Regions from separate parts of the Homo sapiens genome. Here region 1 is linked to region 2. The links are contacts of gene promoters, found by promoter capture Hi-C in human tissues and cell types (Jung and others, 2019). All regions are on one chromosome and are shown on one strand. The core of a region is centred on a gene start or on the middle of the fragment in contact, and the rest is flanking DNA. Distances in the headings are between cores, read along the strand shown. Region 1 overlaps DCAF8 (DDB1 and CUL4 associated factor 8). Region 2 holds the start of CASQ1 (calsequestrin 1).

The links. The method cuts DNA at HindIII sites, captures the fragments that hold promoters and counts their contacts. A contact is called where the count stands out against the background at its distance.
Region 1: a contact is called between a fragment that was not itself captured here and the fragment with the promoter of CASQ1 in region 2, in 3 of the 25 tissues and cell types used here (adrenal gland, aorta and hippocampus).

Annotation. Positions count from the first base shown.
Region 1 is chr1:160,228,570-160,231,269 of GRCh38, forward strand. All of the region lies in intron 7 of DCAF8 (DDB1 and CUL4 associated factor 8), which reads right to left. Among named protein-coding and RNA genes, the nearest start is that of PEA15-AS1, 21 kb to the left of the region's middle. The HindIII fragment of the contact is 7,705 bases long and covers 1-2,700 here.
Region 2 is chr1:160,189,285-160,191,984 of GRCh38, forward strand. It overlaps CASQ1 (calsequestrin 1), which reads left to right and starts at 1,291. Exons shown (of 11, transcript NM_001231.5): 1 at 1,291-1,746. The coding sequence starts at 1,468. The HindIII fragment of the contact is 26,832 bases long and covers 1-2,700 here.

The DNA of each region.
Region 1 (2,700 bases), core at 142-2,641, 39 kb after region 2:
AGGTGTAGTAGGGACTCACACCTATACCTCCTCTACTTACCTTTTTTTTTTTTTTGGCCACAGGCCAAAAAGCATGTCTCCCCAGAGCTTCCCTTAAATACTTTTTAATAACCCTAAACTAAAATTCAGTATTAATGATGCAAAAGCCTTGAGGATCAGTAAGCTATTTCTCTATATTCCCTTGAAGTAATTCCTTTAGGCTAGGAGTGAAAGTTAATGATGTTATGATATATAATATTCAGCAAAAATGTTTTCAAATTTATACCAGAAGATGAGCTGTTTGGGTTCTTTCAAAGGAAGAATAAGAAAGGAGAAACCTCAAAACATTCAGTTGGCTGCACAGGAGAGGTGCCAGAGAAGTTGAGTGTAACCTAATGTCAGAGAAGAGCTGGAGTGCTGAAAGGGCTACCTGCTTGTGTAGGATCAGCGTGCCTCAAAATCTTCACATAGCCAGGCGCGGTGGCTCACGACTGTAATCCCAGCACTTTGAGAGGCCGAGGTGGGTGGATCACTTGAAGACAGTTCGAGACCAGCCTGGCCAACATGGCAAAACCGTATCTCTACTAAAAATACAAAAATAGCCAGGCAAAGTGGCACATGCCTGTAATCCCAGCTACTTGGGAGGCTGAGGCATGAGAATCACTTGAACCCAGGAGGCAGAGGTTGCAGTGAGCCGAGATCGAGCCACTACACTCCAGCCTGGGCAACAAAGTGAGACTCTGTCTCAAAAAAAAAACAAAAATCTTCACATAACTTCTGCCCAGTAAATAGCCAATAGAGGAATATTGAGGCTGATAAGACACAGAAGATTTGAGTATTTCTCCTTGTGTTGAAATGCTAAAACTCTAAGCCTTACTCTAACCCTGGGAAAGTATCAGCTTTGGGTTAAGGCAATATGATATACATATCATATGAATACATATGAATACATACATACATATGAATACAGTTCTCAATACAGCAAACTACTACATTCCCCTCCAAACATCTTGGTCCTAGTGGTGGAATTTGTTAGAGACACAGACTTTTCAAGTAATCTGGAGCTCTAAGTAGGAACTCTCAACTCAAAATTTCAGTGAATGCTCAACTTGGAGGAGGTAGCAACTGAAAATCTATACAAACTACAACCCTTTTTGATCAACAGCTTCTTATTTAAAAATAAAAAAAATTGGCCAGGCACAGTGGCTCATGCCTGCAATCCCAGCACTTTGGGAGGCCAAGGCGGGCAGATCACCTGAGGTCAGGAGTTCGAGACTAGCCTGGCTAACACGGTGAGACCTCGGTTCTACTGAAAATACAAAAAATTAGCCAGGCGTGGTGGCGTGCACCTGTAATCCCAGCTACTCGGGAGGCTGAGGCAGGAGAATCGCTTGAACCCGGGAAGCGGAGGTTGCAGTGAGCCAAGATTGTGTCACTGCACTCCAGCATGGGTAATAAGAGTAAAACTCTGTCTAAAAAAAAAAATCTATGGCTACACATTTAAGGACTGTTGGTGACTAGAGGAAACGAATTTTGAAGGCATGGGAATAGGGGAAGAAGAGAGAAACAAGGTTTTGTCCAGGATTCTTGAACAAGGCAAAGTCATCTCATGTATTTTCTAAAAATTTACCCTATTCCCCATGATTCTTATTAATAAAATGAATCTGGAAATATAGCTATAAAATGTGCTCTCATTTCAAAAGGAAGATGATGCTTTTCACTTACCATTAGGAAAGCAAAAAGTCACTCATTTTTCTAGTGATCTTGCCCCTCTCTCTCCTTTCAAACTGATGAGCCCAAAGAAACATAGTTAAAATAGGCCAACTGGATAGGGATGGATACAGCTTATTACTAAGGGTCAGAGGAAATTAACTAATACATATGGAGACTGAATCCACAGTGTCTGTTTTCCTTAGGTCATGTCTCAAGAGCCAGTGTTAACAAAAGGTGTTCACGGTAACAAAGATATCACTATGGATAAAAAAAAGTGGTAGCTCAGGACAGTGAGAGCCAAAAAACCCTCAGTTCACACTAAGTGCTCCCAAGTCAAACTATTTCTGAATTGAAAACCAGTATTTAAAATTTCTAGTGCACGTTTATTTACATACGAAAAAGGTAGATTATTTACTAATATAGTACTTGCTGGTAAACCTAAATTTATGGCTTAGCTGCCACGTGAGGACCTTGGTCAATTCATCTAACTTCTTTTCTTTTCTTTTTTGAGACAGAGTCTCGCTCTGTCATTCAGGCTGGAGTGCAGTGGCACAATCTTGGCTCATTGCAACCTCTGACTCCTGAGCTCAAGTGATCCTCCTGCCTCAGCCTCTTGAGCAGCTGGGACTACACGCATGTACCACCATGCCTGGCTAATTTTTGTATTTTTTTTTTTAGAGACAGAGTTTTGCCATGTTGGCCAGGCTGGTCCCAAACTCCTGTCCTTAGGTGATCCACCCGCCTCACCTCCCAAAGTGTCGAGATTACAGGTGTGAGCCACTACACCTGACCATCATCTAACTTCTTTAAAACTTGATAATCTCTAAAATATGTAAAGTCACCCCTCAGAGACTGTTACATTAGAGAACAGAACATCTCCAAAGGCGTGTAAGATTTTTGGAAAACGGTAAAAAATTCAAGATAATAGTTAATGGATTCCTATAAAATTCGTAACTCTCCATAAAGGAGCACCTGGTAGTATACAATGCATCAGTCTTACAAACTGTC
Region 2 (2,700 bases), core at 41-2,540:
TCTATGGTCTCCCTCATGCCTCAGTTTACCTGTGCATAGTAAGAACCCTGGAGGGCCATGAAGAGGATCCTTCCTTCCTACGTATCCAGAGTTAAACTCACTACTCTGTCCTCACCCCCCAAGCTGGATCCAGAAGTTTAAGCCCCTACCCGCCCATCTCTGCTTTGGATCTCGGGTGCACAGAATTAATCATCAGTCTTGGTTCAGGGCACAGGGTTCACCTCTTCATGCTTGCCTAATGTTAATTTTTTTTTGCCCTGGTGTCAATACCTGATCCTCTTTGTCTTGTCAAAGACATGGGAATAAATAGTAGCTATTCACTCTCCTTGGAAGCATGCAGCCTGGGAAAACCTCCCTTCCCACTGTGCCCCAGAAAACCGAGTCCCATAGGATCAGGGTAGGGAGTGCACACACAGGTGGCAACCAAAGGACAGACCCCTTCTCATTGTGGGCTTTATAGGCAGAGAAACCCCAAACCCACATCTCTACAGGACAGGATCTGGGCCAGCCCTGTCCTTCCCTGCATTCCCAAGTTAGGAGTGCTGAGTGAAGCAAAGGAAACTGGCTGGAGCTGAGCCAGGTTGCCAGTCTTGGACGCGGCTCCATCTTTTATTCAGAGAATGACCTCATCCTTGGTCCTGGTTCTTTAAAAGAAAGTGGAGGGGGTCTCTTTCCTGCAGCCTGGCTTGCACTTTTATCGCCCCACTCTCCTACATAGTATCAAAGAATCAGAATCAGACTTCACCTACAGAAGATTCCCAGGCTTTAGGACATAGAGCCAATACCACATTTGTCCCCCTTTTGTCCTATATTATCAATTTAGCCTCTGACCCAGTTAGCTCCTCCTCTCCACTGCATTTAACTTCTAATTACCCTTGCCCCACCCTCGGCCCACCCTAATTACCCTTATACCTCCCCTCCCCCAGCCCCAGCTTCATTTACCTCCGACTCATCTGGTCTTATTTTTAGCTCCGGCATCTCTCCTTTTCCTTTCTTAATATGGCGATGAGCTCTTAGGCCAGTGTGGGGACCGGGGCTGAGGTGCCCTGGACACTGGAGGAGGGGGAGGGAAGGAGCCCCTGGGAGCCTGGGGTAGAAGTGTAGGAGGTGGGAGGATTCCGGCCCGCATGGAGCTGTCCTGGCCTCAGAAGGTTATCCGTCTCTCCTGCCAACCATGGAGACATATTTAGACAGGACCAGGTGGGGACTGAGGGGTGCCAATTTCAGGGGGCAGCTCCGGTTCCCTCCCCGCCCCCTGCTCCTATTCCTCCACCTGACCCTTTTTCCCTTGGCTCTGTCGGCAGTTTCTCCAGGACCCAGCAGTGCCCTCTGTCCACTGCTCTGGGCCATTCCCCAATCCCCCCTCCCACTTGAGCCCCTAACTCAGAATCTGGGACCCAGGGGCCCCTCCCTACCCCAGCTAACCTCTTCTGGACCAGGAGAGCCAACCCAGATCCCACTACCTCCATGAGTGCTACAGACAGGATGGGGCCCAGAGCTGTGCCGGGTCTGCGGCTGGCACTGCTGTTGCTGCTGGTGCTAGGGACACCCAAGTCAGGGGTACAGGGGCAGGAAGGGCTGGACTTCCCTGAGTACGATGGTGTGGACCGTGTGATCAATGTCAATGCAAAGAACTACAAGAATGTGTTCAAGAAGTATGAGGTGCTGGCACTCCTCTACCATGAACCCCCCGAGGATGACAAGGCCTCACAAAGACAATTTGAGATGGAGGAGCTGATCCTGGAGGTGAGTTGGGGGCACTGCAGGCCTGCAGAGCATGTCTAGCCCCTCTCCGGAATCCCCTATCCTACACCCATGTAGCTCTTTGAGGATGGGATCTGGGGGTGAGGGGCAGTGTGGTAGGAACCCTGTCCTGACCAACAGGATGCAAGTGGCATGTGGCTTTAGTCAAATGAGAAACAGAGTCTCAGGAACCCAAAAGTACTATCAGCGTCAGGAAACCTTTAGCAGGGGTGCTGCAGGAAGAGCTCCCCTCCCTGCTATAGGAGGCTGGTAGTATTTGACTTAGGTTTGGCTAGGACACTGAGGGTGAAAAAGGGAGGTACTTGGAGGGCCAGGGGAGAACAGCAGTGTATATTGCACTCCCCTACCCCACCCATCTGCTTAGCCAGAACACGTCCTCTCCACATACTTCAGGGGCTGCACCCCAAAGAGATCCAAACTGAGTGTAAATGTAAATGTTATGATACTTGCATGCCATGTTTAAATATCTCCTAGAGATCATGCCTCCCATTGGACTCCCAGTCCCCTCTCTCTTCCTTCCCCCTCCCTAATTCCCCATTTGTCTCCATTGGATAAGCTGGATGCCCTCACTGGAAAATTCTTATGGTTGCAGGAGGTGTCAGAATGTCTTCCCCAATCTTCTTTTTGTGGGAAAAGTCTCCTCACCTCCAAAATGACTTCAGGCCCAAAGGAGAAAGAAGTTATCATAAGAAAAGAAAAAAAACCTATGTTTGGGAATGTGTTCATACACACACACCTTTAGGAAATGGGATGTGAGTTTTCTTGTCCAAGCTCCTGTGGCCCCTTCTCTGGCCTCAGCTTGTCCAGAGCTTGGAGCATTTCAGGGTGAGACACCAGAACCACAGGCTCTCATTTTGTGCACCCCTGCTGGGTGCTAGAACCTGCCATCTGATTAATGAGCCGAGTATTTTTATCCTGAGTGCTCAGTATCCCTGG